Regions from separate parts of the Homo sapiens genome. Here regions 2, 3 and 4 are each linked to region 1. Evidence: promoter capture Hi-C in 16 types of primary human blood cells and fetal thymus (Javierre and others, 2016). All regions are on one chromosome and are shown on one strand. Each heading gives the region's core, a stretch centred on a gene start or on the middle of the fragment in contact. The rest is flanking DNA. Distances are from core to core; before and after follow the strand shown. Region 1 holds the start of PCCB (propionyl-CoA carboxylase subunit beta). Region 2 overlaps SLC35G2 (solute carrier family 35 member G2). Region 3 has its middle 27 kb from the start of SLC35G2. Region 4 has its middle 18 kb from the start of STAG1-DT.

Evidence for each region. The method cuts DNA at HindIII sites, captures the fragments that hold promoters and counts their contacts. A CHiCAGO score of 5 or more calls a contact.
Region 2: a fragment that was not itself captured here is called in contact with the fragment with the promoter of PCCB in region 1 in 8 of 17 cell types (fetal thymus, neutrophils, naive CD4 T cells and 5 more); the score reaches 8.4 in fetal thymus.
Region 3: a contact is called between a fragment that was not itself captured here and the fragment with the promoter of PCCB in region 1, in 7 of 17 cell types (total CD8 T cells, non-activated CD4 T cells, total B cells and 4 more). The highest score is 7.1, in total CD8 T cells.
Region 4: a fragment that was not itself captured here is called in contact with the fragment with the promoter of PCCB in region 1 in 1 of 17 cell types (neutrophils); the score reaches 7.7 in neutrophils.

Annotation. Positions count from the first base shown.
Region 1 is chr3:136,246,892-136,254,763 of GRCh38, reverse strand. It overlaps PCCB (propionyl-CoA carboxylase subunit beta), which reads right to left and starts at 4,424. Exons shown (of 15, transcript NM_000532.5): 1 at 4,206-4,424. The coding sequence starts at 4,388. RefSeq lists enhancers at 3,950-3,999, 4,630-4,689, 3,919-4,785. The HindIII fragment of the contact is 10,493 bases long and covers 3,941-7,872 here.
Region 2 is chr3:136,827,707-136,835,578 of GRCh38, reverse strand. All of the region lies in intron 1 of SLC35G2 (solute carrier family 35 member G2), which reads right to left. Among named protein-coding and RNA genes, the nearest start is that of SLC35G2, 13 kb to the right of the region's middle. The HindIII fragment of the contact is 805 bases long and covers 3,013-3,817 here.
Region 3 is chr3:136,788,247-136,796,118 of GRCh38, reverse strand. No RefSeq gene overlaps it. Among named protein-coding and RNA genes, the nearest start is that of SLC35G2, 27 kb to the left of the region's middle. The HindIII fragment of the contact is 242 bases long and covers 3,176-3,417 here.
Region 4 is chr3:136,766,351-136,774,222 of GRCh38, reverse strand. No RefSeq gene overlaps it. Among named protein-coding and RNA genes, the nearest start is that of STAG1-DT, 18 kb to the right of the region's middle. The HindIII fragment of the contact is 8,760 bases long and covers 1-7,872 here.

The sequences.
Region 1 (7,872 bases), core at 3,175-5,674:
CCCAGGAGTTTGAGACCAGCTGGACAACATGGCAAAACCTGGTCTCTACTGAAAAATACAAAAATTAGCTGGGAGTGGTGGCACGTGCCTGTAATCCCAGCTACTCAAGAGGCTGAGGCAGGAGAATCACTTGAACCTGGGAAGCGGAGGTTGTGGTGAGCTGTGATCACTCCACCGTGCTCCAGCCTGAGCAACAAAGCGAGAACCTGTCTTTTAAAAAAAAAAAAAAAAAAAAAAAAAAAAAAGCTAGCCGCAGTGGCTCACACCTGTAATCCCAGCACTTTGGGAGGCCAAGGCAGGCGGATCATGAGGTCAGGAGATCGAGACCATCCTGGCTAACACGGCGAAACCCTATCTCTACTAAAAATACAAAAAAAATTAGCTGGGCTTGGTAGCACCCACCTGTAGTCCCAGCTACTCGGGAGGCTGAGGCAAGAGAATCGCTTGAACCCAGGGGGCAGGGGTTGCAGTGAGCCAAGATCGCACCACTGTACTCCAGCCTGGGTGACAGGGTGAGACACTGTCTCAAAAAACAAAAACAAACAAAAAAAAGCCGCCATTGCTTGGGCTCCCAAGCTCTCAGCCCCAAGCAAATACCCTAGCCTACCGTCCCCTTCCCCAACAACAACAAAAAAAACCACATACCTCAAATTGGCTATTATTTCCCCCTTAGGAAAGTAGCCAAAGCTGGTGAGGTTGTGTTTAAAATAACAAACAAAAATCAGGCAATCCTATACACTGTCACGTAAAGTAGAATAAGTTTTTAGGAAACCAACTTGGCAACATATATACAGATTTTTAAAATATATTTATACTGACCAGGCACTGCAGCTCACACCTGTAATCCCAGCACTTTGGAAGGCCAAGGTGGGAGGACTGCTTGAGCCCAGGAGTTGAGACCAGCCTGGGCAACAAAGCGAGACTCTGTCTCTACCAAAAAATAAAATAAAATAAAATAACTAGCAGGGTAGGAGGCTGAAGTGGGAGGATCACTGGAGCCCAGAGGTCGAGGATGCACTAAGCCATGATTACACCACTGCCCTCCAGCCTGGGTGACAGAGTAAGACCCTGTCTCAAGAAAAAAAAAAAAAAAAAAAAATTCTGTCATCCCAGCACTTTGGGAGGCCGAGATGGGAGGATCACCTGAGGTCAAAAGTTAGAGACCAGCCTGCTCAACATGGTGAAACCCCGTCTCTACTAAAAATACAAAAATTAGCCAGGTGTGGTGGCACGTGCCTTAAATCCCAGCTACTCAAGAGGCTAACGCAGGAGAATCACTTGAACCTGGGAAGCAGAGGTTGTAGTGAGCCACGATCACTCCACCGCACTCCAGCCTGAGCAACAAGGTGAGACCCTGTCTTAAGAAAAAAAAAGAGGCCATGTGCAGTGGCTCACGCCTGTAATCCCAACACTTTGGGAGGCCGAGGCAGACGGATCACGAGGTCAGGAGATCGAGACCATCCTGGCTAACATGGTGAAACCCCGTCTATACTAAAACTCCAAAATTATAGCCAGGTGTGGTGGTGGGCACCCGTAGTCCCAGCTACTCAGGAGGCTGAGGCAGGAGAACGGCATGAACCCGGGAGGCGGAGCTTGCAGTGAGCCAAGACCGCGCCACTGCACTCCAGCCTGGGTGACAGAGCAAGACTCTATCTTAAAAAAAAAAAAAAAAAAAAAAAAACCTCCATTGCTTGGACTCCCAAGCTCTCAACCCGAGGCAAATACCCTAGCCTACTGTCCTATCCCCCCCTCCCCGAAAAAAACAAAAACAAACAAAAAATACCTCAAATTGGCTATTATTTTCCCCTTAGGAAAGTAGCCAAAGCTGGTGAGGTTGCATTTAAAAAAAAAAAAACAAAACAAAAAACAGGCAATCCTATACACTGTCATGTAAAGTAGAGTAAGTTTTCAGGAAACCAATTTGGCAACATATATACAGATTTTTAAAATATATTTATACTGACCAGGCACTGCGGCTCACACCTGTAATCCCAGCACTTTGGAAGGCCAAGGTGGGAGGACTGCTTGAGCCCAGGAGTTGAGACCAGCCTGGGCAACAAAGCGAGACCCTGTCTCTACCAAAAAAAAAAAAAAAAAAAAATTAGCTGGGTAGGAGGCTGAAGTGGAAGGATCACTGGAGCCCAGAAGGTCAAGGATGCAGTGAGCCATGATTACACCACTGCCCTCCAGCCTGGGTGACAGAGTAAGACCCTGTCTCAAGGAAAAAAAAAAAAAAATTCTGTCATCCCAGCACTTTGGGAGGCAGACGCGGGTGGATCACCTGAGGTCAGGAGTTCAAGACCAGCCTGGCCAACATGGTGAAACTCCATCTCTACTAAAAATACAAAAATTAGCCAGATGTGGTGACACATACCTGTAACCCCAGGTACTCTGGAGGCTGAGGCAGGAGAATTGCTTGAAGCTGGGAAGCAGAAGTTGCAGTGAGCTGCTGCACTCTAGCCTGGGCAACAGAGTGAACTCTGTCTCAAAAAAAATAAATAAACTTACACCCTTTGACCCACTAATTCCTCTTCTGGGAAAATCTACGGAAATGGTCAAAAATTGTTTTAAAAGGGGTGCAGGGCCGGGTGCAGTGGCTCACACCCATAATCCCAACACTTTGGGACGCCAAGGTGGGTGAATCACTTGAGGTCAGGCGTACAAGACCGGCCTGGCCAACATGGTGAAACCCTGTCTCTGCTAAAAATACAAAAAAAAAGTTGCCAGGCATGGTCGTGGGCACCTGTAATCCCAGCTACTTGGGAGGCTGAGGCAGGAGAATAGCTTGAACCTGGGAGGCAGAGGTTGCAATGAGCCAAGATCGCACCATGGCACTCCAGCCTGGGCAACAAGAGCAAAACTCCGTATCAAAACATAAAAATAAAAAGGGGTGCAGGAGGGGGTTCATATTAAATCAGCCTCCTAAGTTAACTTTGGCAAAAGAAAAACAGCTTCTGGAGGCTTCATCTAAACCTAGTAGGATCTACCTGGGAAAGGGCTAGGCGATGTTCCAGGGAAGAATTGAGCAATAGGCCCCAACAGAAAGAGTGTACAGGAGCACTGACAGGCCTTTCCAGAGGATGATCTAACATCTCCCTCAGCCCTAACAGAGTAGGTTAGAAGTAGCCCCAGGGGAGAGAAAGCACTCCTAGCACCACAAACCATCACTAAATTTACATTTCACTCTCAAGTGTCAAAAGGAACTGTTACCTTTGGACCCTTGTCAAATGCGAATTTATGACATCTGAATCAATATTAGACAAATATAGAGCTGTTCAAATCTCCTCACTTTAAGACCCCATCCCTCCCCCAGTGCCTCCCTCATGGTTGTGAGTTGTGCCTGAATACTCTTCATCTGTAAGAGTTTCACTTCTGCACCTTCCCGTTGGTTAATTCGTTCAGCACAACGGTCCAGACTCACCCACCAGTCACGGACACACTGGGCAAGCCTGGTTTCAAGTCAGGGATCACCTCTCCAAAATGGGCCGCCCAGCTTATCTCTGAAGGCCAGCTGGATTCTCGCCTCAAAACCCAGGCGGTGGGTGGCAGTGTTTCAACTGCTCAGTCCAGCCAAACATCGAGAGTAGCCTGCGCACTCCCAGAAAGGCCACCTGCTTCCGACACGTGCCTTTGCTACCCATCAAGGCGAGGCATGCTAAGGCCCTAAAGAGCTCGACCAGGCATTCTGCGGGCAGAAGTTCCACAAGTTCCTGCACGCGCACATCCCCCATTTCATGTTAGTGGAGTATGCCCAAGTTCAGTTTTCCTGCTTCCACAAAGGAGAAAGAACCTACCATCACTCTTTCATGGGGCACGAGAATAAGCACATGGTTTTTACTGAGCGCCTATCATTTTGCTATCTATGGTCTAACGATACACTTGTGAAGGAAGAATTATTATTAAAATGACCCACAGAGATTTAATAAGTTGCCCAAAAGCTTATGTTAAGTGTTGAGCTGGCTAGAGACGAGCCAGATCCGTCTAAATCCCAAGGGTTAAACAGTATGAAAAAGCACACAGGTGCTTCTGCTGGTTATACCCGCCTCCACGAGAAACGCTACAGGTTTTCAAGGTGAACACCCTTGCTCCGGCCCCTCCAGGCACCGTGCGGATTGGCAGGGAGGCCTCGGACGCCGCAAGCCGGGCACGCAGTGATAGGTCGCGGACGCCAGGGGCGGGACTCACTTAGGCCCCTCAGGACTCACTCGCTTGTGCTGCGCGTCAATACGGCGTTGGCCCCCTCCCAGCAGCGCGGTCCGGCGCTTGTTTTCGATGCGTTCGTTAACAGAGGTGGCCTGGCTGCAAAGGCTGCGGACCGCGGCGCGGAGACCGCTCGCCAGAACGCTGAGCCTTGCCCCGACCGCCGCCACCCGTAATGCCGCCGCCATTTTTGCTGTGCCGGCGCGTCCCCTACCGGCGCACCTGAGTACGCATGTGCTAAAGCGTGGGTACGGCGCTTGCGCAGCATCGGCTGGCTGTAGGGAGCCGCGGGGGCTGGACTACAGAACCTGCTTGGGAGTAAGGCGTGAGAGTTCGAGACCCGGTGCTGCCCGAGGAGGGTCGCGCAGAGAAAAAGTACAGGGCCTGCCTGGCTGCACAAAAAAGGGACATAGTCCTTGCTCTTCTCTGACCACCTAGACCCTTAACTTTGTCGTCCCACTTCCTACAGAAAATGATTATAAGATTTAACCAACATTTATTAAGCATTGTGCCAGGTGTTGCTTTTTGCACTTACCATGCACTAGCTTACTATCTGGATTTCACAGATGAGGTAAATCAAGCACAGAGAGATGAGTGATTTGATCAAGAGGCAAGACTGAGGCCGAGGTAGGTGAGCCCAGGAGCCCAAGACCAGCCTGAGCAATATAGTAAGACCCCACCTCTACAAAAAAATTAAAAATTAGCTGGGCATGGCGGCTTGCACCTGTGACCCCAGCTACTCGGGAGGCTAAGGCGGCAGGATGGCTTGGCCCAGGAAGTCGAGGCTGCAGTGAGCCGTGATTGCATCACTGCACTCCAGCCTGGGCAAAACCCTGTCTCAAAAAAAAAAAAAAAAAAAAGCCAAGACTGACAATGTGGTTGGCCAGGATTCAAACTCAGAGACCTATCATTAATATGTGCCAGATAATGAGCACAGGACCCTTAACCTCTAATCAGTAGTTCTCAAAGTATGGATCCCATTAAAGAAAAAACTATTCATGACACTTAATTATTCATGTTTAAGAATGGTAAGGCAAACTTTATTCAGGCCCAATCTGACAGAGGTAGGGATAGAGTTTTGCCATAAGTCAGAGCGATTGGGCTGAATATAGCAAAGTGGTAATTTATAGCTAAGGGGCAGTGTGTGGAAGTCAGTGGATGGAAAATTACTAAGAGGAAACATTGGCGGGGAATCTGGCTAAATTGACCTAACAGGATTCCTGCCCAAGGCAGGTCAGGGTAACTGAACATCACCTGGGGGATGGTGGCGGTATGGGTCAAAACCAGATATGGAGAGTAATCAGATATCAAGAATGGAGGATTCTGGCTAAACTGACTTGGCAAGTTTCTTGCTAAAATGGAATTCCACAAGGAATGACATGGGAGCCCACACTCAGGCCTAGTCAAAGAGAGAGCTCAGAAGAGCCTGACCAATGTTTGATCAAGGAGGGAATCTTGTCAATCCAGCAACTTCAGTATCACCTGGGAGTGAGTTGGAAATGCAAGCTCGAATTCTCAGAACTTACTCCAGACCTTTAAATCAGAAACTCTGGGGCTGGGGCCAGCCATCTGTTTTAGCAGATGACCTTTAGGTGATTCTGATCTGCTTGCTAAAGTTTAAGAACCACTGCTCTAGGAATTTGGAATTGTACTGTTGAGAGCTTGACCATCTGTTTCTCCCACTAACAGGCAGGTCTTCAAGACAAAGAACATGGTTTATATTTCTCATTTTTAGCCACAGAAAACTGCTAAAGTTGATCATGAGCCCTTCCCAGATCCAGCTCATAGCCAGGGCCTTCATAAAGTACAAATTCTGACCTATGACCTTAATGTTAATGCAATTCAACTCAGAAAACATTTTTGAGCACCTACCATGTGCCAAGAACTAAACATCAGTACTGATTGCATTTCCTGGAGTAGTAACAGTTCATCTAGATAGAGAGGGCAGCTTAGAGGCCAAAGCCTCTTGGCTAGGCAAAGCCCACCTGTATCTGTATAACTCCGTAATGGGTACTCTTGACCTTGCATTTGGGTCCTTGCTTTAAAGACTTTACCAACCTAGAGAGGCAGATGGACAACCTAGAGAGGCAGATTGCCTTGGGAGCACAAGAGAGAATTTGAGTAAGGCTGAGTGTGTTGAGGAGAGTTTCTCCAAGAAAGCATCCATATGCCAGGGAACAGAAGCAGTGTGAGCAAAGGCCTGGCATGTTCAGATTCACATACACAGACACACACACATACTTTGTTGTGTTCCCAGCTTTTGGGGAAATGGTGGTAAATGAGACTGGAAAGTGAGAATGGCATTAGATTGTGAAGAGTTTTTTCATGTTCAGAAATTGGGACTTGCTTTTGGCCTGGGGGCAGTTGGACTCCCTTGTCCCACAGTGCCTTGTAGGTTCCTTACATAAAGCACATCTCACACTGTGTTAAGATTGTTTAGCTGTCTTCCTAGACAGACTCTCCAGCCAAAGGTCAGGGACTGCAGCTGATTTGCTCACCACTGTGGTCCCAGCACCTGGAACAAGGCCCAACGCAGAGAAGGCCTTTAGAATGTATTTGTGAAATTGAATCGAGCTAGCAAATAGGCAATTGCATGTGAGTCCAGAGGTTTTCGCCCCCTCCTCTATGTCTTTTCAGGCTCTGAAACCTGCTCAGGTATCATCTCCTCCATGCAGTCTATCCTGATCCTCAGAAGCAAGGAAGTTTTTCTTATTTAACTTTAGATAACCAGTGCTTAGTAGAAAACCCAACACAGGGAGGCTCACTGAACCTAACTGCTTCCTCCAGCTAGTCCTCTCTCCCTCCACTTCTTTCTCACTGTCCTAATGCCCTGCCTATGGGCACTCCATAGTTCTATAGATCTGTAATGTTATTCCTCAGACCTCACATGCAAGCTCCAGCTTGGGGCAGGTGGGTGGGGGTAGGAGGAAGTTGGAGGTAGGAGGCAATTATCCAGTAATTGCCCTTTAATACCACTATGCTCCAGGCTGCTTTCCTGTCCTTAGTCCCCCCGCTGGTGGCTGTGTTTGAGTTTTTTTCTCCATTGTGAGACAGGAGTCACCCTGATCTTTTAGTTTTCTCACTTTCTGAGACAGTAGAGCTGAAAATTTGGAGTCAACACCTGGGTACAAATCTTGCTTCTGCCCTGACTTCCTGGATAACACAGGGTCATTCACCTAAGGATCTCAGTTTCCTCTGTAAAAGTGGAGAGGGGGTGATCTGTGAAACCCTTGTGTTCTGAGTTTGTTACCCATGACATAATAACAAGAGCCCAGTCATTGGTGTTAGACTGTCCTGAGGTTAGTTCCAACTCTGCCAGTTACCTCTGTGTGACTTGGACAACTTGGCCTCAGTTTCCTCTTCTGTAAAATTGGAATAATAATAGTTCTACCTCAGAGTTGTAAGGTTTATTTTTATTTATTTATTTATTTATTTTTGAGACAGGGTCTTGCTCTGTCACTCAGGCTGGAGTGCAGTGGCTCAATCTTGGCTCACTGCAACCTCCCCATCCCAGGTTAAAGCGATTCTCCTGCCTCAGCCTCCCAAGTAGCTGGGATTACAGGCGTGTGCCACCACGCCCGGCTAATTTTTTTGTATTTTTTGGTAGAGATGGAGTTTTACCATGTTGGCCAGGCTTGCCTTGAACTCCTGATCTCAAGTGATCCGCCTGCC
Region 2 (7,872 bases), core at 2,166-4,665, 580 kb before region 1:
ACATAGCCTCAAAGTGTCTTCCTACAAAATACTTATTAATTCAAAGGGAAAGAGAATAACTTAACAGTGGAGAAATTATCACCTTAAGCCATCAAAGTTAACATCACCAACAAAAAAACAATATTATGTGCCTTTTAATATGATACATTTGGAAGAATACAATTTCACTTCTATCACATTCCTGCCAAAAAAAAATGTATCACCTGAATCTAATCAAGAAGAAACATCAGACAAACCTAAAATGAGGAACTCTACAAAAAAAAAAAAAAAAGAAAAAGGCCTGAACTCAAAAATGTCAAGGTCACTAAAGATAAGGAAGGATTGAGGAAATGTCACAAATTAAAGATTAAAGAGACATAACAACTAAATGTAATTCATAATCCTGACTTTGATTCTAGACCAAAAGTAAGAAATACTTTTTCAAAAAGGAAATTGTTAGGACAAATGACAAATTTTGAATGTGGTGTGTGGATTAGATAGTGGAATTATATCAATGTGAAATTTCTGATTTTGGTGATAACACTGTGGTTATGCAGGAGAGGGTCCTTGTCTTAAAGGAAAACACTTAAGTAGTTAGGGATAATTGGATATCACCTCTGCAACTTACCTTCGATTGGTTCAGAAAAAGAAAATGAATGGCAAAACAAATGTAAAATGTTTACAATTGGAGAACTTGGGTGAAGAATAATAAGAGAGTTATCTTTTACCCAGGAGTTTGTTGTATTATATTTGCAACTTTTATGTAAGTTTGAAATTACTACAAAATAAGTTACAAAAATGGCAATACCAGTATTTAATTCGTTGGATTTTGGGGAAAAGTACATGAGTTAATATGTGTGGTATGTTTACAACAGAGCTAGACACATAATAAATGCTATATATATATGTTAGCAATGATGGTGATAGTGAGACAGTGGTGGTGGTGATGATGAAGTCCTGAATTTTAAACACACAGGTGCAGTGGCTCATACCTGTAATCCCAGAACTTTCAGAGGCCAAGGCGGGCTGATCACCTGAGGTCAGGAGTTCAAGACCAGCCTGGCCAACATGGTGAAATTCCTCCTCTACTAAAAATACAAAACTTAGCTGGGTGTGGTGGCAGGTGCCTATAATCCCAGCTACTCTTCTGAGGCATGAGAATCGCTTGAACCCGGGAGGCAGAGGTTGCAGTAAGCCAAAATCACGCCACTGCACTGCAGCCTCAGCCACAAGAGTGAAACTCCGTCTCAAAAATAAATAAATAATAAACACACAATTCATCTGAATTGGGATGAGTTGACTCTGGCTCACTTTTCTCCTTTTAGATTTAACAAAGAAATTAAAATAGTATTTACTTGCATCTGACATGCTAACAACAATGTAAATTTGTTTATTGCAATTTAAACACTGTTCATATAATGTTTTATACACTAGTGTCCCCAAGCAAAAGACATGTTAGTAATATTTTTTTAAATAATCCAAGATCAAATTTTTAAAAAGCCATTTTCACCTTTCATTAATTTAGGCAATCTGGTGATAATGAGAATATGCAATACATAAATATATACATATATTAACATATATTTAATAAAGGTAAATCATGTACAATGCTATTGTTTACGGTTACTATACAATACCATATACAGTAGCATTGTATATGATTAACCTTTATTAAATATATACATTAATATATATTACAATACATAGAATTAAAGACCATGAGAGTTTAAAAGATTTTGGGGATCATCTACTCCAATTCCTTTGAGAGTAAGTATATCTTCTCTCTACAGCAGGGGTGCCCAACCCTCAGTGCATGAACTAGTACTAGTCTGTGGCCTGTTAGGAACTAGGCCACACAACAGGAGGTGAGTGGAGAGCAAGCGAGCATTACTGCCTGAGTTCTACCTCCTGTCAGATCAACGGCAACATTATATCTCACAGGAGCACAAACCCTATTGTGAACTGTGCATGTGAGGGATCTAGGTTGCATGTTCCTTATGAGACTCTAATGCCTGATGATCTGAAGTGGAACCGCTTCATTCTGAAACCATTCGTGAACACACCCCCCACCCGCCGACTCCTTCCATGGAAAAACTGTCTTCCATGAAACCAGTCCCTGGTGCCAAAAAGGTTGGGGATGACTGCTCTACAGCATCCCCATCAAATAGTACAGTTTCTGATTGACCACCTACAATGACTAGAAACACTCCTTCTCAAAACAGCCAGTTGGAAGTCATTCCTGATTGTTAGAAAGTTACTTTTTAACAATGAGTCAAAATCTTTCTCCATGTAATTTCCAGAGGCTGCTACTATATGTCTTCTGAGGTCACAAATTGATTCCCTCTTCCACTTAACAACATTTCAATAACGTGAACTACTATTCCCTACCCTCCTCATCTAAATTCTCCCACTGTAAGTTTCCTCTTCTCCAAACTGAATAGCCCCTGGGTTTTCAATTATTCCATGTATAATCATGGTTTTCAGTCCTTTCACCATCTTATGTTTTATTCTTTTTTTTTTTTTTTTTTTTGAGACAGAGTCTCGCTGTTGTCACCCAGGCTGGAGTGCAGTGGCGCGATCTCAGCTCACTGCAAGCTCCGCCTCCCAGGTTCATGCCATTCTCCTGCCTCAGCCTCCCAAGTAGCTGGGACTACAGGCGCCCGCCACCATGCCTGGCTAATTTTTTTGTATTTTTAGTAGAGACGGGGTTTCCCCATGTTAGCCAGGATGGTGTCGATCTCCTGACCTCGTGATCCACCTGCCTCGGCCTCCCAAAGTGCTGGGATTACAGGCGTGAGCCACCACACCCGGCCTCAGTCCTTCCACCATCTTAACCACTCTCCTCAGTTTCTATACTTTGTCCTGTTCAGGGGGATTTTGTTTCTATGAAGGCAGTCTGACATCACATCAGCTATCTGGCAATCTCATGCATTCATGATTATTCCTTTATTCAGTCAGTATTTATGAGTGCCTATGATGTGGAAGGCACCATGCTAAGACATTATGAGAGACAAGACCAAGAAGGCATAAGCTTTCTCTTAAGGAACTTAAATGTTAATGGGTGAGAAAAGATATCAGACACAACAAGTACTATGCACATTAAAGGAAGGAAATTATACAATTAACTATAGATTTGCTTTAACATCAGAATATGGGTGAACAAAGCAAAAGTAATGACAATTTCAGCCTAGAACTAATTTGTTTTGGGATAGCATAAGAATTGGTAAAAAGGAGCAGTTTGAGATTTAAACTACACTAAAAGAGAAACTTCTAGATTAGAAGAATGAGCTGGGCATGGTGGCTCACACCTGTAATCCCAGCATTTTGGGAGGCCAAGGCAGGTGGATCACGAGGTCAGAAGATCAAGACCATCCTGGCTAACACTGTGAAACCCCATCTCTACTAAAAATACAAAAAAATTAGCCAGGCCTGGTGGCGGGCACTTGTAGTCCCAGCTACTCGGGAGGCTGAGGCAGGAGAATGGCATGAACCCGGGAGGCAGAGCTTGCAGTGAGCCGAGATCGTGCCACTGCACTCCAGCCTGGGCGACAGAGCTAGACTCCATCTCAAAAAAAAAAATGAAGAATGATCACACAAATGCAGAAGACACAAAGAGTTTACAGTTTGTTAACCCCTGAGAGCTCTAACAGGAATAATTATTTGTGCAGAGTGATTTACATGCAATTTTTTAAATAGGCAAAAAAAAAAAAGACTAGACTCAAGCACTTTACATGTATTATCTCACTTAAACCCACAAGTCCAACAAGGTAGGTACTATTACTCCTTTTTTCAAAAAACTTAAACGAAGCTCAGCAAGGTTTGGTGACTTGCCCAAGCTTACCAAGGTCCTAAATAGTGCAGTCAGGCTTCAAACCCAGGCTGTCACATTCCAAACCATTTGTTTACAACTTGAGATTATCAGCTACTTAATGCCCAACAAAGCAATTTCTGGCAAATTCCCACCCACATGCCTTCAACTTTCCTGGTGACCTACTTGAAAAACCTCTCACTGAACAATCTGGTTCATTCTCTGGATTCTAGAACACTTTCTACAGGGCTCTGTCATCATCCTTGACATACTGTATCATTGTGAGGTGCCTATGTACCAGTATCCCCTGATAAAGTGTTACCACTCCAAGAAAAGGCATTATGTCTTTATCTTTCTTCTAAACATCTCCAACCCCTAGCTCAGTGTAAGACTCAACAAATGCTGGAAAAATGAATGAGTCCTCTGGCTTAGCTGATATGCTTTGGAGAAAGTCACCTTCTTAACCAAGCACCTCTAATTCTGGATCTAATTAGTTGTAGTGCAGAGCTTTGGTTGTCACAATTCTGCAACCTAACTCTATCTTGTATCTCCTAACTGTAAAGTAAGGGAATCCAAAAAGCAATGTGAGTATCTAGCTGTTGTCCACCACCCTCCTCAGCAGCCTCATTCATTTTTCAGGGTCTTCACTCCCATTTACAACAGTGGCCAGCCAGAGTTACACAGAAACCAGAGGCAAAATAAATGGGAAATTAAATCACCTAATATTTCTCCTTTCCTCCATTGAGTTCCTAAAGTAAAAGAGTTCAGTAAAGTTGCTGATACTTTGGGGTCTTAAATAAAAGAGAGATACAAAGCAAGTGATTTTTATGCAGTCAGAAAATGATTAAACAAAATTTAGTAAAGATGGCAGGTATGTGGATTGAGTTCACATATAATTATAACTATGAAATAGTGTTAAGTTGAAAAATGCAATTGACATACTGAAGAATGCATTAGAGTCTCTTAATAGCAGAATTGATAAGGCAGAAGAAAAAAAATTACTGAGATTAAAGACAGGCCATTTGAAAATACACTGTCAGAAGAGCAAAAAGAAAAAAGAATAAAAAGAAATGATGTGGGCTGTGTACAGTGATTCATGCTTGTAATCCCAGCACTTTGGGAGGCTGAGGTGGGCGGATCACCAGGTCAGATCGAGACCATCCTGGCCAACATGGTGAAACTCCATCTCTACTAAAAATACAAAAAGTAGGCCAGGCGCGGTGGCTCATGCCTGTAATCCCAGCACTTTGGGAGGCCAAGGCAGGCAGATCATGAGGTCAGGAGATTGAGACCATCCTGGCTAACGCGGTGAAACCCTGTCTCTATTAAAAATACAAAAACATTAGCTGGGCGTGGTGGCGGGCGCCTGTAGTCCCAGCTATTCGGGAGGCTGAGGCAGGAGAATGGTGTGAACCTGGGAGGCGGAGCTTGCAGTGAGCCGAGATGGCGCCACTGCACTCCAGCTCGGGCGATAGAGCAAGACTCTGTCTCAAAAAAAATAATAATAATACAAAAAGTAGCTGGGCATGGTGGTGTGTGCCTGTAATCCCAGCTACTCAGGAGGCTGAGGCAGGAGAATCGCTTGAACCTGGGAGGCGGAGATTGCAGTGAGCTGAGATCGCGCCACTGCACCCCAGCCTGGTGACAGAGGGAGACTCCGTCTCAAAAAAAAAAAAAAAAAAAAAAAGAAATAATGTATGTCTAAAAAATCTAGAAACAGCCTCAAAAGGGCAAATCTCAGAGTTATTGGCCTTAAAGAGGAGATAGTGAAAGAGATAGAGGTAGAAAGTTTATTCAAAGAAATAATATGAGAACTTCCCAAACCTAGAGAAAGAGATCAACGTTCAAGTACAAGAAGGCTATAGAACACCAAGCAGGTTTAACCCAAAGAAGACTACTTCAAGGCATTTAATAATCAAACTCCCAAAGATCAAGGATAAAGAAAGGATCCTAAAAGCAGCAAGAGAAAAGAAACAAATAACATATAATGGAGCTCCCATATGTCTGCCAGTAGACTTTTCAGTGGAAACCTTACAAGCCAGGAGATAGTGGCAAGACATATTTAAAGTGCCAAGGGGGAAAAAAAAAATTTACCCTAGAGTAGTATAGCTGGTGCAAATATCCTTCAAGCATGAAGGAGAAATAGTTTCCCAGACAAATAAAAGTTGAGGGATTTCATCAACACCAGACCTTTTCTACAAGAAATGCTAGAGGGAGTTCTTCAATCTGAAAGAAAAGAACATTAATCAGCAATGAAAAATAATCTAAAGGAGTCCAGGTGCGGTGGCTCACACCTGTAATCCCAGCACTTTGGGAGGCTGAGGCGGGCAGATCACAAGGTCAGGAGTTCAAAACCAGCCTGGCCAATATAGTGAAACCCCGTCTCTACAAAAACTACAAAAATTAGCCGGGCATAGTGGCGGCCGCCTGAAGTCCCAGCTACTTGGGAGGCTGAGGCAGGAGAATCGCTTGAACCCGGGAGGCGGAGGTTGCAGTGAGCCAAGATGGCGCCACTGCACTCCAGCCTGGTGCCAGAGCAAGACTCCATCTAAAAAAAAAAAAAGTCATCTAAAGGTACAAAACTCACTGGTGATAGTAAGCACATAGAAAAACATAGAATATTATAACACTATAATTGTGGTGTGTAAACTGCTCTTATGTAGAAAGACTAAATGATAAGCCAATCAAAAATAAATTTTCAAGACGTAGACAGTACAATAGATGTAAAGAGAAACAACAAAAAGTTAAAAAGCAGAGAGATAAAGTTAAAGTGTAGAGTTTTTATTAGTTTTCTTTTTTGCATGTTTATGCAATCTTTGTTGTCATCAGTTTAAAATAGTGGGTTATAAGACAGTATTTGCAAGCCTCATGGTAACCTCAAGTCAAAAAACATACAACAGATACACACACACACAAAGCAAGAAATTAAATATGCCACAAGAGAAAATCATCTTTACCAAAAGACAAGAAGGAAGGTAAAAAGGAAGAGAAGACCACAAAACAACCAGAAAACAAGTAACAAAATGGCAGAAGTCCTTACTTATTGATAACATTGAATGTAAACAGACTAAATTCTCCAATCCAAAGACACAGACTGGCTGAATGGATTAAAAAGCAAGACCCAGTGAATCTGTTTCCTACAAGAAACACACTTCACCTATAAAGAGACACATAGACCAAAAATAATAAAGGGATGGACAAAGATATTCCACGCCAATGAAAACCAAACAAGGACAAAAGTAGTTATACTAATATCAGACAAAATAGATTTCAAGACAAAAACTGTAAGAAGAGACAAAAAAGGTCATTATATAATAATAAAAGGGTCAATTCTTCAAGAGGCTATAACAACTATAAATAAATATGTACCCAGTGCTGGTGCACCCAGATATATAAATTAAACATTACAGGGAAAGAGAGAGACCTCAATACAATAATAGCTGGAGACTTCAACACCCCACTTTCAGCATTGGACAGATCGTGCAGACAGAAAATCAACAAAGAAACATTGGAGTTAATCTGCAATATAGAACAAATGGACCTAATAGATATTTACAGAACATTTCATCCAACTGCTGCAGAATACATATTCTTCTCATCACATGGATGATTCTCAAGGATAGAACACATGTTAAGTCACAAAACAAGTCTTAAAACATTAAAAAGGTTGGGTGCGGTGGCTCACGCCTGTAATCCCAACCCTTTGGGAGGCTGAGGTGGGCAGATCACCTGAGGTCAGGAGTTTGAGATCAGCCTGGCAAACATGGCGAAACCCCATCTCTACTGAAAATGCAAAAATTAGCTGGGCATGGTGGCGTGCACCTGTAGTCCCAGCTACTTGGGAGGCTGAGGCAGGAAAATCGCTTGAACCCAGGAGGTGGAAGTTGCAGTGAGCCGAGATCATGCCACTGCACTTCAGACAGAGCAAGACCCTGTCTCAAAAAAAAAAAAACAAAAACCCTGAAATGATACCAAGTATCTTCTCTGACCACAAGTAAACTAGAAATCAATAACAAGAAGAATTTTGGAAACTATACAAACACATGGAAATTAAGCAATATGCTCCTGAATGACCAATAGGTCAA
Region 3 (7,872 bases), core at 2,047-4,546, 540 kb before region 1:
GTTTGCAATGATTAAACTTATGATAAAAATGTTAAATGTCAACTTAAAAAATGCAAGGAGATACGTAGTTTTCAAATTATTTTAGAGAATATGTGAGTCAAAATGTTTGATGACCACTGATTTAAGATTCTATAAGCCAAGCCCTTTTATTATTGTTTTACTTTTTTTGTTTTCTTTTTTTGAGACAGGGTCTCACTCTGTCATCCATGCTGGAGTGCAGCAGTGTGATTTCAGCTCACTGCAACCTCCACCTCCCAGGTTAAAGTGATTCTCCTGCCTCAGCCTCCCGAGTAGCTGGGACTACAGGAATGCACCACCAGACCTGGCTAATTTTTGTATTTTTTGTAGAGAGAGGGTTTCCTATGTTACTCAGGCTGGTCTCAAACTCCTGAGCTCAAGCGATCTGCCTGCCTTGGCCTCCCAAAGTGCTGAGATTATAAGTATGAGCCACTGCCCACAGCCCCAAGCCCATTTTCATTTTGTTTTCTTTTGTTTTTAATTTAACCAAGACTCAAAAAGACCATCATCACCAGAAAAGAGCTCTTGGTCCTGGTGACAGCTCCTTAATATTGAACCAGGCTCATAAAGCTCTATCCAGGAATTTCAAATTCCATTAGTTTAACATCTGGCCAGTCACCTCCCTTTCCCCTCACTTTCTACTCTACATCACTCCTCAACTCTAAACTAGAGCCATGAGGGAGTCTTGCAACTTCCCAAAAGCCCCCTAACATTTCACACCTCTCGGCCTTTGCTCAAGCTGCTCTCTCTCTGCCTGGCATGAACTTTACCTCTCACTACCCTCATTTCCTCTTCTCCAGGCAAAAGGGAATTTCTCCCAGAAATTGTCACTCATAACTGTTTTGTTTGTTTGTTTGTTTGTTTTGAGACCGAGTCTCACTCTGTTGCCCAGGCTGGAGTGCAGTGGCACGATCTCAGCTCACTGCAGCCTCTGCCTCCCGGGTTCAAGCAATTCTCCTGCCTCAGCCTCCCAAGTAGCTGGGATTACAGGCGTGCACCACCACACCCGACTGATTTTTTGTATTTTTAGTAGAGACAGGGTCTCACCAGGTTGGCCAGCCTGGTCTCGAACTCCTGACTTCAGGTGATCCACCCATTTCAGCCTCCCAAAGTGCTGGGATTACAGGCATAAACCACCTTGCTGGAACATAACTGGTTCTCAATTGAGGGTGACTAACCATCCCAGTTTTTCTAGGACTAAGAGGTTTCATTAGTATGGGGGACTTTCTGTGCTAAAACCTGGATAGTCCCAGGTCGATCAGGATGGTTGGTTACCCTACTATTGTATGTTCAACCTACTCAAAGTTACACCTAGGGGAGTGGAACCAGCTTTAGGGTATTATATCTTCTCCCAACTGACAGGTCTGTGGAAGACAATACTCTTCCATATCCCAAGAGCACTTTCTTAGGCTAATATAGTTCAAATGCTTTAGGCATTTAAGTTACAGTATTCCTGATTACGAGCTCACACTTCAAACAGCAGTTATTTTGTGTTCTTAAAAGAAACACTCTCTTCTAATTAATTGAACTCATGTTTGCATATTCAATTCCTGCCAGTGCATGCCTTACAGCATCACTTAAAAATAATTTGTCTCTGTGCATGTGGGGCTCCTAGACTCCTAAAAATAACTTTGAGAGAAACAGTGTACATTTCCTGTGAATGTATGTATATGTATTTGGGGAAGTGGGAGATGGAAGGTTGAATTTTTTTTTTTTTTTTTTTTTTTTTTTTTGAGACAGAGTCTCGCTCTGTTGCCAGGCTGGAGTCCAGTGGCATCATTTCAGCTCACTGCAACCTCCACCTTCCGGGTTCTAGCAATTCTCCTGCCTCAGCCTCCTGAGTAGCTGGGACTACAGGCAGGCGCCACAACACCCAGCTAATTTTTGTATTTTTAGTAGAGACAGGGTTTTACCATGTTGGCCAGGATGATCTCGATCTCTTGACCTTGTGATCTGCCCGCCTCAGCCTCCCAAAGTGCTGGGATTACAGGCGTGAGCCATCACGCCCAGCTGGAAAGTTGATTCTAATAACCCTTAGGAGTGTTTCCAGAATTTTCCCAGGGCAGAATGTGGTCAGAAGCAGAGAAGCTATGGAGACATGTTACCTGACTAAACTTGAGTATCCAATCTGTTCAATTGGTACAATTCAATAAAATAGATGTCACTATTTTACTGGATTATTGAAAAGATTAAAAAAGGCAGTGTAGCAACTTGGTGAGGAACACAGATTCTGGAGCCAAGCACCCTGGGTTTGAATTTGGTCTCTAGAGCTTACTAGCTATGTGAACTTGAGCAAGTTACTTAACCTCTATGCCTCAATTCTATGCCTCAATTGAATGTGAATAACAATATAAGCTGCTTCATAGGCTTGTTATAAGAATCAAATGAATTAATGTGTGTAAAGAACATAGAAAGGGGCTTAGTACACAGTAAATGATATATCAGTGTTTGTCAAGTAAGTCTATGTGAAGTACCTGGAGCATGAATAGGCACCTGGGAAATGACACTATTATTGTATTTATATGCATTATTTCTTAGCTGGAATCTTTATATTTTCAGAGAATAAATGGATTCAACAGAAGTTCAGCAAATTACTGAACCATGAGAATAGATTTTCTAACTCTCCACTAAGGGTCCTTTGTTCAAATTGTCTAGGGGCTCACCGAGAAAAGACTTTGAGAGGTCAGATTTTTTTTTTTTTTGCATTGGTAAAAAAGTTTGAAAATTGTCAACAGAATTATGTAAAATAAATTTTTTTATATTAGCAAAGCTGTCATCTCTGCAGTTTTTATCAAAAGTGTTTCATTTCCATCATTTTTCTGTTTGCCCAGGAAGGGAGGTCAGCATATGCAGCCTGGTTCAGAGTCCAGGTCAGCAGGCAGCCATCCTCAGCAGGGCTTCCCTTGGTACACAGGGCTTTGAAGCCAATTTTGGGTTACCATAGTAACCAAGAGAGCTTCTAGAAAAATTTCCAAATGAAACATTCATTCAGGACACCAACAGGCATGGCCTGGGGGTGGGGAGTTGGGGAGGAGAGGGACAAAAATATACTGTCCCTGACTTCACCAAGTTCACAGTCTGTTGAAGAGAAACAGTGTAAAAAATCATTGACTTAGTTCCTCAATTTAAAGACGCTTTTAAAAAACATTTTAAAGCTTCCAAAGTCAGATGCATGAATAGATGAGTTCATTTAATGTTATGGATTCCCCCGACACAGATATCTATTATTAAATTAATAGATTAAAAGATGTCTTACAATCTATAGCGTTTTGGACTGGAAAACATTTGGTATACTAGTGTGCCACGTGCTATGACAGAAGCACATACAAAGAACAGAAGGGGCCAAGCAATGAGGGGAGGGGGAAGCAGCATGAGAGTATTTGAGCTCCCTGGGAAGCTTTGTGCAAGCTTCTGCCTTGGTTCTGACTTATTTGGATACAGAAAAAGATGCAGGACTCTACCAGCAGGATAAAAATCAAATTGCCTTCTCTCTTTCTCAATTAAGTAAACATGGCACACCAATTTCAGCCTGTGATACACAGATGACAGAGAGGTAGAACAGGGCTTGATGGTGGCCAGGCTTGTGCCACTGATGGCCAGTTTGTGAGCACTCAGCCCTAGCCCTTCCAGCTACATACCCAGGCAGCAAGGGGCAGATCTTGTTGAGGAGGCTCTGTTTGTACCATTAGCTTTGAGCATGGTTACTCTCATGGGTGCCTCTAACTGAACTTGTAAGAAGTCCTTTGGGAGGCTGAGGCGGGCAGATCATGAGGTCAGGAGATCGAGACCATCCTGGCTAACACGGTGAAACCCCGTCTCTACTAAAAATACAAAAACATTAGCCGTGGTGGTGGGCCCCTGTAGTTCCAGCTACTTGGGAGGCTGAGGCAGGAGAATGGTGTGAACCTGGGAGGTGGCGCTTGCAGTGAGCCAAGATCGCGCCTGGGCAACAGAGCGAGACTCCATTTCAAAAAAAAAAAAGAAGTCCTATGGTTGGGGCCATACGTATACCAAGTAGTAGAGCACCACACTCTTCCTTGTATATTGGAGGGATGGTACTGTCCAAAAACCAAAAACAGCAAATACTTACATAGCCCTTTTTTTTTTTTTTTTTTGAGATGGAGTCTCACTCTGTCACCTAGGCTGGAGTGCAGTGGCATGATCTCAGCTCACTGCAGCCTCCGCCTCCCGGGTTCAAGCAATTCTCCTGCCTCAGCCTCCCAAGTAGCTGGGATTATAGGCGCATGCAACCATGCTTGGCTAATTTTTTGTATTTTCAGTAGAGACGGAGTTTCACCATGTTAGTCAGGCTGGTCCCGAACTCCTGATCTCGTAATCTGCCGGTCTCAAACGCCTGACCTCATAATCCGCCCACCTCGGCCTCCCAAAGTGCTGGGATTACAGGCGTGAGCCACCGGCATGGCCCTATATAGCCCTTCTTAACAGTTCCCCTCCCACAACCCTTTCACCCACTTACCCAGAGGCCTTCCGGGACCAACAATGTAACATAAATTGAGACCTGAAGAACAGCTGCTCAAAATTAAAAAATTAAAACCCATGCCTGACAAAGAAAACACTTCTGGAGACAGAATAAGGACTGGGTAAGTTCTGAGTTTGCAACTTCCGATCTATTCCTTTGATCCCTACCCATGGTCAGAGCCCCATCTCTCTTTGGTGCTCAGCCTACAAGGAACTGGCATGTAGTCATTTTGCCCCATGCTATTCCCTTGCAGGGTAGACAGAGGAGGCTTCATTGATCTGGAATCACTTGGATAGGGTCTTGAAGGATGAGTAGTAGTTTGCTGAGGGGAGTTTCACAAGGGGGAAAAGTGGATTCCAGGTACAGAGAAATAGCAAGAGCCAAAGCTGAGAGGCAGAAAACATAGGGGACCTTTTGAGGCTCTATGGGCAATTATATGTGATGGGAGTATAAGCACAAGATGAGGCTGGAGAGGGAGCAGGGCCAGGTGTCAGCAGGACTCTGGGATCAAGTGAGGAAATGTAGCTTTTACTTTGGAGATAGTGAGAACCCCTGAGAGATTTTAAGCTGGAAAGTGAGATGCACTGATTTGTGTTTAGAACCTTCCCCCTGACAGCTGCGAGGAGATGGTCAGAGACACTGGGGAGCTGTGAGCGGGCCAACCTGCTTTAATCAAAGCAGAGGCCCTGGGAATGAAGTGCAGAGGTCCCAGGGATATTTCGTTGGTACAAATGACAGTATTTAGTGATAGGGGAGGGGAAGGGGAAAAGATATTGCAGAGTGGGTGATATTAGAACTGACTCAGGAAAATAACCAGAAAATGGCACTACTCTTTAATTCTTCATTCCATTTATATATCATTTTGGTGGAATTGTTTCAACCTACTGTGAGCAAAACCATGTAGAACTGTTTTAAAAGCTCATTCTATTCGATACCTGTTGTATTTGAGATGTTTTATAGAGGAAACACAGAGCCCATTTCTTTTTTCTTTTTCTTTTTGCTATCTTCTTCTTTTTCTTTCTTTTCTTTCTTTTTCTTTTTCTTTTTTTCTTTTTTCTTTTTCATCTTGGCCAGGATCTGACCTCATGATCCACCCGCCTTGGCCTCCCAAAGTGCTGAGATTATAGGCATGAGCCACTGCTCCCAGCCACAGAGCCCATTTATGAAGAGACATAGAAGGTGGATTTTATAGGGGGTGTCCTGTGGCAGTGGCAGGTGGGCACACAGTCTGTGCTATCTCCATGGTTTCCAGTTCCCATGCTCTCTTGGTTCCTCCTTCTTGGCAAGAACTTCCAGCTGATGCTTCCCCTCTTCAGCCTTTCAGCCTGTAAATGACTGGATCCTTGGAGGCAGGCACCTCTGGACTATCTAGTCAATGTCCCAAAAGGGCAGAAGCACATCTTGGCAGAGGAATTCCACATCTCCAGATGTAGTACATCTATCAGGAGGCAGATGAGTAACAGGGAAAACTACTCATTGGATCATGGTCACCATCGGGAGATGTGCTGTGGAAGACTTAGTGCTCAAAGGCTTTGTTCAGACCTAGCCACAAGGGGATGGCTTGGGAGGCCTGAAGTTCAGCTTCAAGCAGCCTCAGTAATGGACAGTACCTGGGCCCTGGAGAGGTGAGTAAGGTAAGAAAAACTTTGACCTTTGACTGCAGAGGGAGCACATCCAACTGCCTACAGGGACAAGACAACAGTGAAGTAGGCTGGGGGAGATTGTGGCACCCTGGGGAATTTGTGCCTCATCTAGAAGGGATAGATTCTACTCAGTTCCAGCAAAGGTCACGTGGGAACACAAAGCCAAGGAATGGAGAGCTGACAACTTTTCAAGAGAAGGCAGAAATTCAGATTTTTATGAGTCATCTCCTGATTTTTTGGATGTTGGGAATTAATTCAAAGTTTGTTTTGTTTTGTTTTGTTTTGTTTTGTTTTGTTCTGTTTTGTGACAGAATCTCACTCTGTCGCCCAGGCTGGAGTGCAGTGGTGCAATCTCGGCTCACTGCAACCTCCGCCTCCCAGGTTCAAGCGATTCTCCTGCCTCAGCTCCCGAGTAGCTGGGACTACAGACGCATGCCACCACACCCAGCTAATTTTTTTTTTTTTTGTATTTTTATTAGAGATGGGGTGTCACCGTGTTAGCCAGGATGGTCTCGATCTCCTGACCTTGTGATGTGCCCGCCTTGGCCTCCCAAAGTGCTGGGATCACAGGCGTGACAAAATTTTAAGATGTTGAGCAAGCCAAACAAAGTTCTCCTGTGGTTGGATTTGGCCTTGCAGCTATAAATTTGCAACCTCTACTCTAAAACTTGAGCATTAATCTCTGAATTTCAATCATCTAGTACTAGAACAGGAAAAAGGGTGAGGCTACTAAGAAGCTGGAAACAGGCAAAAAGGTTTATAGGATCTGAGGGGTCATTAGTCCAATTTCTAATTGCATAGATAGGCAATCGGAGGCTTGGAGAGAAGAAATGCCCAAGGGCACACAGTTCCAGGCAACAGTAGCACTTGCAGTAAGAACAAGGAGACTCAGCTTACGGTGGCTCATGCCTGTAATCCCAGCCCTCTGGGAGGCCGAGGCAGGCAGATGGCCGAGGTCAGGAGTTTGAGACCAACCTGGCCAACATGGTGAAACTCCGTCTCTACTAAAAATACAAAAATTAACTGGGCATGGTGGCAGGTGCCTGTAATCCCAGCTACTCAGAAGGCTGAGGCAGGAGAATCGCTTGAACCCAGGAGGCTGAGATTGCAGTGAGCAGAGATCACGCCATCGCACTCTAGCCTGGGCAACAAAAGTGAGACTTCATCTCAAAGAAAAAAAAAGAATAAGGATACTCAGGCCAGGCATGGTGGCTCATGCCTGTAATCCCAACACTTTGGGAGACCGAGGTGGGAGGATCACTTGAGGCCAGGAGTTCAAGACCAGCCTAGGCAATATAGCAAGACTCTGTCTCCTCAAAACATTTAAAATAAAAGAGGCTCAAGCGGGCCTGACTGGCATTTGGTCTTCTTGCCTCAGTTCCCTCCTTTGTTTATTTGTTTCCATTCTCTAGTTTGTGGCTATGATTGGTACATATGTCCCCTACTGAACTTTGGATTATTCCTATTGGACCCCTGGGAGCTGTCCTGGCCTTCATCTGGAGTCTCTGCCCCAACCTCTTAGCCTGGAGCTGGTGCTGTTTCTGAGTCTGCTGGCACTGACCCCCTTGGGCTCCTCGCATGGGCCTGTCTGAGCTCCACATTGTGCTGAGTATGATACATACCTAGTATGGGACAAAAATAATGCTTGATCTCAGTGTGCCATAGTCCTGTGTTCCATCCAGTAAACACACTGCTTCCTAGGATTAATGTCTCCCTGCAGAAAGGAAAAGC
Region 4 (7,872 bases), core at 2,949-5,448, 520 kb before region 1:
GGCCAGCCTGGTCAACATGGTGAAACCTTGCCTCTACTAAAAATACAAAAATTAGCCAGGTGTGGTGGCGGGCACCTGTAATCCCAGCTATTTGGGAGGCTGAGGCAGGAGAATCACTTGAACCCAGGAGGTGAAGTTTGCAGTGAGCCGAGATGGCAGCACTGCACTTCAGCCTGAGAGACAGAGCAAGACTCCATCTAAAAAAAAAGAAAGGAAAATAAAAAGCATTATCCACAGATACTCATTGTTGTTTTGTTTTGTTTTTTGAAACGGTTTGAATTCATCACCCAGGCTGGAGTGCAGTAACACGATCATGGCTCACTGAAACCTAGACCTTCTGGGCTCAGGTAATCCTCCCAACTCAGCCTTCCAGATAGGTAGATGAGATCACAGGCTACAGGAGCACCCTAGCATGCCCAGCTAATTTCTCGTATTTTTTGTAGAGACGGGGTTTTGCTATGTTGCCCAGGCTGGTCTTGAACTCCTGGGCTCAAGCAATCTATCCGCGTTGGCCTCCCAAAGTGCTGGGATTACAGGAGTGAGCCACCTCACCCAGCAGATACTCACTGTTAACACTAAACTATGTATCCAAACTTTTTCCTAGTTTATATTAACCTGATTTTGTTGAATTTAATGTACTTTGGGTTTCTTTCTAAGCCAACAGGTAATATGGAAGTGTTGTATCTTTTTAATAGATACATAGTAATCTATTATAAGGATATAAAATGGATATCTTGGGTTGGGTCCTGGGGAAGGCAGATTCTGAGATGAAGTGCTCCTGGTATCAACATCTGTGGAAAAGAGGGGAAGGAAACAGAATTGAACAGACAGAGAAGTTATATTGGATTTTAAACCCAATGGTAGCCTCAGCTGACCTCACAGGAAGTTCTGCAACTGAAATGATCCCTCAGAGTTATCCCAAATTGGAGATGGTCAGGATTTTTTTTTTTTTTTTTTTTTGGAGACAGTCTTGCTCTGCCACAGAGGTTGGGGTGCAGTGGTGTGATCTTGGCTCACTGCAACCTCTGCCTCGCCAGTTCAAGCAATTCTTGTGCCTCAGCCTCCTGAGTAGCCGGGATAACAGATGTGCACCACCACACCCAGCTAATTTTTGTGTTTTTAGTAGAGACAGGGTTTTGTCATGTTGGCCAGGCTGGTCTCAAACTCCTGGCCTCATGTAATCTGCCTGCCTTGGCCTCCAAAAGTGCTGGGATTACAGGCATGAGCCCCTGCACCCCGTCTGCACCCTGTCAGTCAGGCCTTTTTACCCTGGCATTGATCACTGGATATGAGTCATCTTGGGAAGGGACCTGTCTCTCTGTAGCTAAGGCAATCCCTGAAGGAGCCAATAGCATTCCCAGAAGTTGAGGTAATCCTTCATTGAAGGAGGATCTGAGCAGCATATCACAGTGTCCACCATAGTCTTGTTCTGTTCAGATCTACATCTTCATATATGTTCTAGGAGCAGCAATACCAGCATTAGGATGGGCCTCTCTTTTTCTGTGGGACATTTAGAAAAGTAAGATTAATGGAGCAAACCATAGCTCTTATTACTGCCACTAGTCTCAGGGCTGCGACTGATACTTATTGTCTCCCTTGTCCTCTATCCAGTTTAGAGTCCTCTTACCTCAGCTATTACCTCAGTGGCTTACCTGGTGGCATGACCCAGACCCTCATCTTTGAAGGGTTTCCCCTAGTTTTTATTCCTTTCTCAAGCCGAGGTTGCTGTATTTGTCTATTTATGGTCAAAATTGGGAAAAATCATACACCAGGAGGTACACAGTTAGATTACCTAAATGCCAAACATTCATGCTTCTGCTATCTAACCTTTCCCTGATGCCAGAATGGTGACTCTTCTTTTTGCCTGCTATCCCTGGACACAAAGAACACAAAGGGCCCAGGTTGATAGCCATAGCTTGGAACTCAGTGGGAGTCTTGCTATATTCTCTGGTAAAATTGCACTCCTTCTGGGGACCTGTACCTCCAACTTTGTAGAGCTCAGACTTGGGAGACAATTCTTCTGCCTTATTAGCCTCCCAAAGAGCTGGGATTACGATTGTAGGTGTGAGTCACTGAGCCTAGCCAGAATGGGTGATTTTTTAATAAATGAAAATTTATTTCTTACAGTTCTAGAAGTTGGAAAGTCCAAGAGCAAGAGGCTGGCATATGGCAAGGCCTTCTTGCTCCTCATTCCATGGTGAAAGGTGGAAGTGCGAGAGAGAGAGTAAAAAGGGTCCAAATTCTTCCTTTCATAACAAACCCACTACCAAGATAACAGCATTAATTCACTCACTCTGCCCTCATGGCCTAATCACTTCCCATTAGGCTTCACCTCCCAACACTATTGCATTGGGGATTAAGTTTTCAACATATACTTTTTGGGGGACACATTCAAACCATAGCAGAGTGGCACTAATTTCTGCCATTCCTCCAACAGTACTGTTTTTTGTTTTGTTTTGTTTTGTTTTGTTTTTTTGAGACAGAGTCTTGCTCTGTCTCCCAGGCTGGAGTGCAGTGGTGTAATCTTGGCTCACTGCAACCTCCGCCTCCTGGGTTCAAGCGATTCTCCTGCCTCAGCCTCCCAAGTAGCTGGGAATACAGGCACCTGCCACAAAGCCTGGCTAATTTTTGTATTTTTAGTAGAGACGGGGTTTTGCCATGTTGGCCAGGCTGGTCTCGAACTCCTGGCCTCAAGTGATCCGCCTGGCTCGGCCTCCCAAAGTGCTGGGATTATATGTGTGAGCCATGGTGCCCAGCCTACAGTACTATTTTTGATTTATATCATTATAATTGTTATTTCATAGGCCAAGGACCCAATGAGGGAGTTGTGCCAACTATGAAGTATATCTACTCTGATTATGTATTTGGGAAATGGGGAAATTACCAACATATAGGTCTGTAGAAGAGTAGATCCAATGTGATCTGGACCTTGTTTCTTAGTGAATTCAGACTACTATAACAAAATACCCAAAACCGGGTAGCTTATAAGTGATGAACATTTAAATCTTACAGTTCTGGAGGCTGGAAAGTTCAAGACAAGTTGCCAGCAGATTTCAGTGTCTGGTAAGGGCCTGTTCTTCATACATAGCACCTTCTCCCTGTGTCCTCATATGGAGGAAGGGGTAAGGCAGCTTCCTCAGGCTTCTTCTTTTTTTTTTTTTTTTTTTTCTGTTTTTTGAGACAGAGTTTTGCTCTTGTTGTCCAGGCTATAGTGCAATGGCGCAGTCTCGGCTCACCGCAACCTCCAACTCCTGGGTTCAAGTGATTCTCCTGCCTCAGCCTCCTGAGTAGCTGGGATTACAGGCACGTGCCACCATGTCTGGCTAATTTTTGTATTTTTAGTAGAGATGGGGTTTTGCCTTGTTGGCCAGGCTGGTCTGGAACTCCTGACCTCATGTGATCTGCCCACCTCGGCCTCCCAAAGTGCTGGGATTACAGGCTCTAGCCACCATGCCCAGCCCTCAGGCTTCTTTATAAGAGTACTTATCCCATTCATGACAGCTCTGCCCTCAAGATCTATCATTTCCCAAGGGACCCGCTCTTAATATTATCACATTGGGAATTAGGTTTCAACATATTAATTTTGGGTGAACTTAAACATTCAGACCATGGCATCTTGGGTAGGACTTCATTTATTACCTGACCCCCACATGTACCTACCCTAATAGGGGGACCATAAATGATTCTTTGGGTCTCTATGTATCAACGTTAATTCAGAGTCTGGAACCAATAGTCTTTGAAATGTTTTGGTACTACTACCATTTTCCCAGTGCATGATTATTTGAGTAAAGCCATAGGTCCAACAGTTCTGGAACAACCATTGGGGAAGGACGGAGAAAATCATTCCTGTGTACTTTCACCATGGTGTTACAGGTTATTTTTTCCTGGGGACCTAATCTCTCCTTGAGTTAATGGATTTCATGTCTAAAGCATGAGTTCATGTTTGGAAACTTGTCAAGGAATTATATTTCAATTGGGGTTACTGATTCAGTCTCCTGGTCATAAATTTTTAAAAAACAAACTGAATACCCTTATTGGTTGCCCACCTATTTTTTTCCCTAAGGACACCACATTAATTATCTCCATAATAATCCTCTGAGGGCCACCTCCCCCGACTGTCTCTCTGATCTTATAATAACTGTCCAATTAGACATTTATTTATTTATTATTTTTTGAGATGGAGTCTTGCTCTGTCGCGCAGGCTGGAGTGCAGTGGCGGGATCTCAGCTAACTGCAACCTCTGCCTCCCAGGTTCAAGCGAGTCTCCTGCCTCAGCCTCCTGAGTAGCTGGGACTACAGGCATGTGCAACCACGCCCAGCTAATTTTTTGTATTTTTAGTAGAGATGGGGTTTCACTGTGGTAGCCAAGATGGTCTCGATTTCCTGACTTCATGATCTGCCTGCCTCAGCCTCCCAAAGTGCTGGGATTACAGGCATGAGCCACTGCACCCAACCTATTATTATTTTTTAGATGGAGTCACTCTGTCACTCAGGCTGGAGTGCAATGGCACGATCTTGGCTCACTGCAACCTCCGCCTCCTCAGTTCAAGAGATTCTCCTGTCTCAGCCTCCCAAGTAGCTGAGACTACAGGTATGCTCCACCACACCCAGCTGATTTTTGTATTTTTAGTAGGACGGTGTTTCAGCAAGTTGGCCAGGCTGGTCTCGAACTCCTGGCCTCAAGTGATCTGGCGACCTTGGCCTCCTAAAGTGTTGGGATTACAGGCATGAGCCACCGAACCCAGCTAATTTTTTTTTTTTTTTTTTTTTTTTGAGACGGAGTCTTGCTTTGTCACCGAGGCTGAAGTGCAGTGGCATGATCTCGGCTCACTGCAACCTCCACTTCCCAGGTTCAAGGGATTCTCCTGCCTCAGCCTCCCGAGTAGCTGGGATTACAGGTGCCCACCACCACACCCAGCTAATTTTTGTATTTTTTTTTTTTTTAGTAGAGACAGGGTTTCACATATTGGTCAGGCTGGTCTTGAACTCCTGACCTCAGGTGATCTGCCTGTCTCGGCCTCCTAAAGTTCTGGGATTACAGGGATAAGCCACCACGCCTGGCCTACTTATTTATGCATTTTTTTGGAGACAGGGTCTCACTCTGTTGCCCAGGATAGAGTGCAGTGGTGCAGGCATGGCTCACTGCATCCTTGACTTCCTGGACTCAAGCAACCCTCCTGCCTCAGCCTCCTGCCTCAGCTGGGACCACAGATGTGTGCCACCATGCCTGGCTAATTTTTTTTTTGTAGAGACAAGGTCTCCATGTTTCCCAGACTGGTCTCAAACTCATGGTCTCAGGTGATCCTCCCACCTCAGCCTCCCAAAGTGCTGAGATTACAGGTATGAGCCACTGCACCCAGACAACACTTGTTGTCTTGATAGAGAGAGGTCTCTGCACCATCTCTGAGCAATGGTGCAGAGAGGGTGGGCCACTTTTAGGAACGTCCTCATCTAATGTGTCAAGCCCCATTCTTTCCCAACTAGGGCCCTGACCTTAACTTGATTTACCTGTGTTGACTGGAAAGTGAATCTTCTTTGGAGCTTAGCTACTCTAAGTTTATTCTTTAGCTTATTCTGTACCCCCACTGCTGGAGAGGAGAGCCACTTTGTGAGCTATTAAGCAGACTCTCTAATTTTCACTTGGTGATTAATCATTCTCAATGAAGAAATTGGTGATTAATCATTTTCAACTTTTCATTATCTTTTTTCTAGTGCATCAATCGGTTAAACAATAGTCTTAGTCTGTTTTAGTCAGCTTGGACTATTATAACAAAATACCACACATCAGGAGGTTTAAACAACAGAACTTTATTTATCACAGTTTTTGGGGGCTAGGAAGTCCAACTTCAAAGTGCCAGCTGACTTGATTCCTAGTGAGGGCTCTCTTCCTGTCTTAAAGATAGCTGCTTTCTTGCTTTGTCCTTACATGGTCTTTCCTTGGTGCATGTGTGCAGAGATAGGGAAAGAGAGAGAGAGATCTCTCTTTCTTTTCTTAAAAGACCATTAGTCCTATCAGAGTAGAACCCCATCGGTGCATGCGTGCAGAAACAGAGAAAGAGAGAGATTTCTCTTCCTCTTCTTAAAAGACCACTAGTACTATCAGAGTAGAACCCCACCCATATGACCTAATTTAACCTTAATTATCTCTTAAAAGTCCTATCTCCAAATATAATCACATTGGGGACTAGGGTTTCAATACAGATATTTTGGGGGATATATTTCAGTCCATAGTACCAATCAATTCCATCATCCTTATAGTTGCTATTTCCCCCATGTTTCTCAAATGCTTAATACATCATATCTGTAAATATATACTCTTTTACTGGTGTATCAACCCAATTGACCATGCATGAAAGTTTTAACAATTGGACTGTAATCTTGTGATAGGGGTCCTCATTGTCAGGTGGGCAGCTAGTGATCATGCTCCAAAGTCCCATCTTAGTGCCTGCTTTCTCATACCTCACTCCTGCCACCAACTGTCATAGGTTGGGTTCCTGGGAAGCAAACTATGAAACAGAATTTAACAGGCAGGTTATTTATTAAGGAGTGCCCTTGGGGTTAGCACTTGTGGAACAGAGGGGGAAGGACACGGATTGGGCAGAGAGAGATTATGCAGATTACATAGGGAGTCTGGGATGTTACAATTGACCTTTAGAGTTGTCCCAAGTTGGGCTAAGATGGTCAAGCTCTTATACCTTCACGTTAAGGTTTTGCTTGTTTGTTTGTTTTGTTTTGTTTCTGTGTGTGTGTGTGTGTGTGGTGGGGTGGGACGGGGGACAGCATTTGGCTCTGTTGTCCAGGCCGGACACAATCTTGGCTCACTGCAACCTCCACCTCCTGGGGTCAAACCATCCTCCCACTTCAGCCTCCCATGTCCCTGGGACTGCAGGCTCATGCCACCATACCTGGCTAATTTTTCTATTTTTTTAGAGATGGGGTTTTGCTATATTGCCCAGGCTGGTCTCAAACTCCTGAGCTCAAGCCATCCACCCACCTTGGCCTCCTGAAGTGCTAGGATTATAGGCGTGAGCCACCATGCCTGGCCTCTTATACCTTCACTTTGATCAGCAATTGCATGTGGGCCACTTGGGAAGGAACCTAACCTTGAGCAAGGTGGCGCTCTGCAAATGTAGCAATTCTGAAGGAACCAAAGACTTACCCAACAGTGAACTCAGTAGCTAGAAGAAGTCCTTAATTAAAAGGAGAGCTTGAGGGAGTGCACAATGGCTAACACCTGTAATCCCAGCACTTTGGGAGGCCGAGACAGGCAGATCACTTGAGGTCAGGAGTTCAAGACCAGCCTGGCCAACATGGTGAAACCCCTGTCTCTACCAAAAAAAAAAAAAAAAAAAAAAAAAAAAAAAAAATAGCCAGATGTGGTAGCACGTGCCTGTAGTCCCAGCTACTTGGGGTGGCAGGTGGATCTTTTGAGTCTGGAAGATTGACGCCGCAGAGAGCCGAGATCATGCCACTGCACTCCAGCCTGGGTGACAGAGTGAAACCTTGTCTCAAAAATAAAATAAAAACATCAGGAAAGTTTACATAAAGTTGCTGTTGATTTGCTAAATGTAATAGTCTGATCATGACACTGAATAAATGTCTCAAAAAAAGACAAAAACTATGTATGGATGTCCATTAGAAAGTAAATGAAAAAATTGTAGTATAATCATGCAATGGACTACTATAGCAGTACTGAAAAGGAATGAACAGTTAATTCACACCACATGGATGAATCTCAAAATAATTTTGTTGAATAAAGAAGACAAAAAAGTACATGATGTATTATTCCCTTTATATAAAATTCTAGAAGATGCAATTAATCTGCAGTGACAGAAAGCAGATCAGTGGTTACCTGGGGATAAGATAAATAAA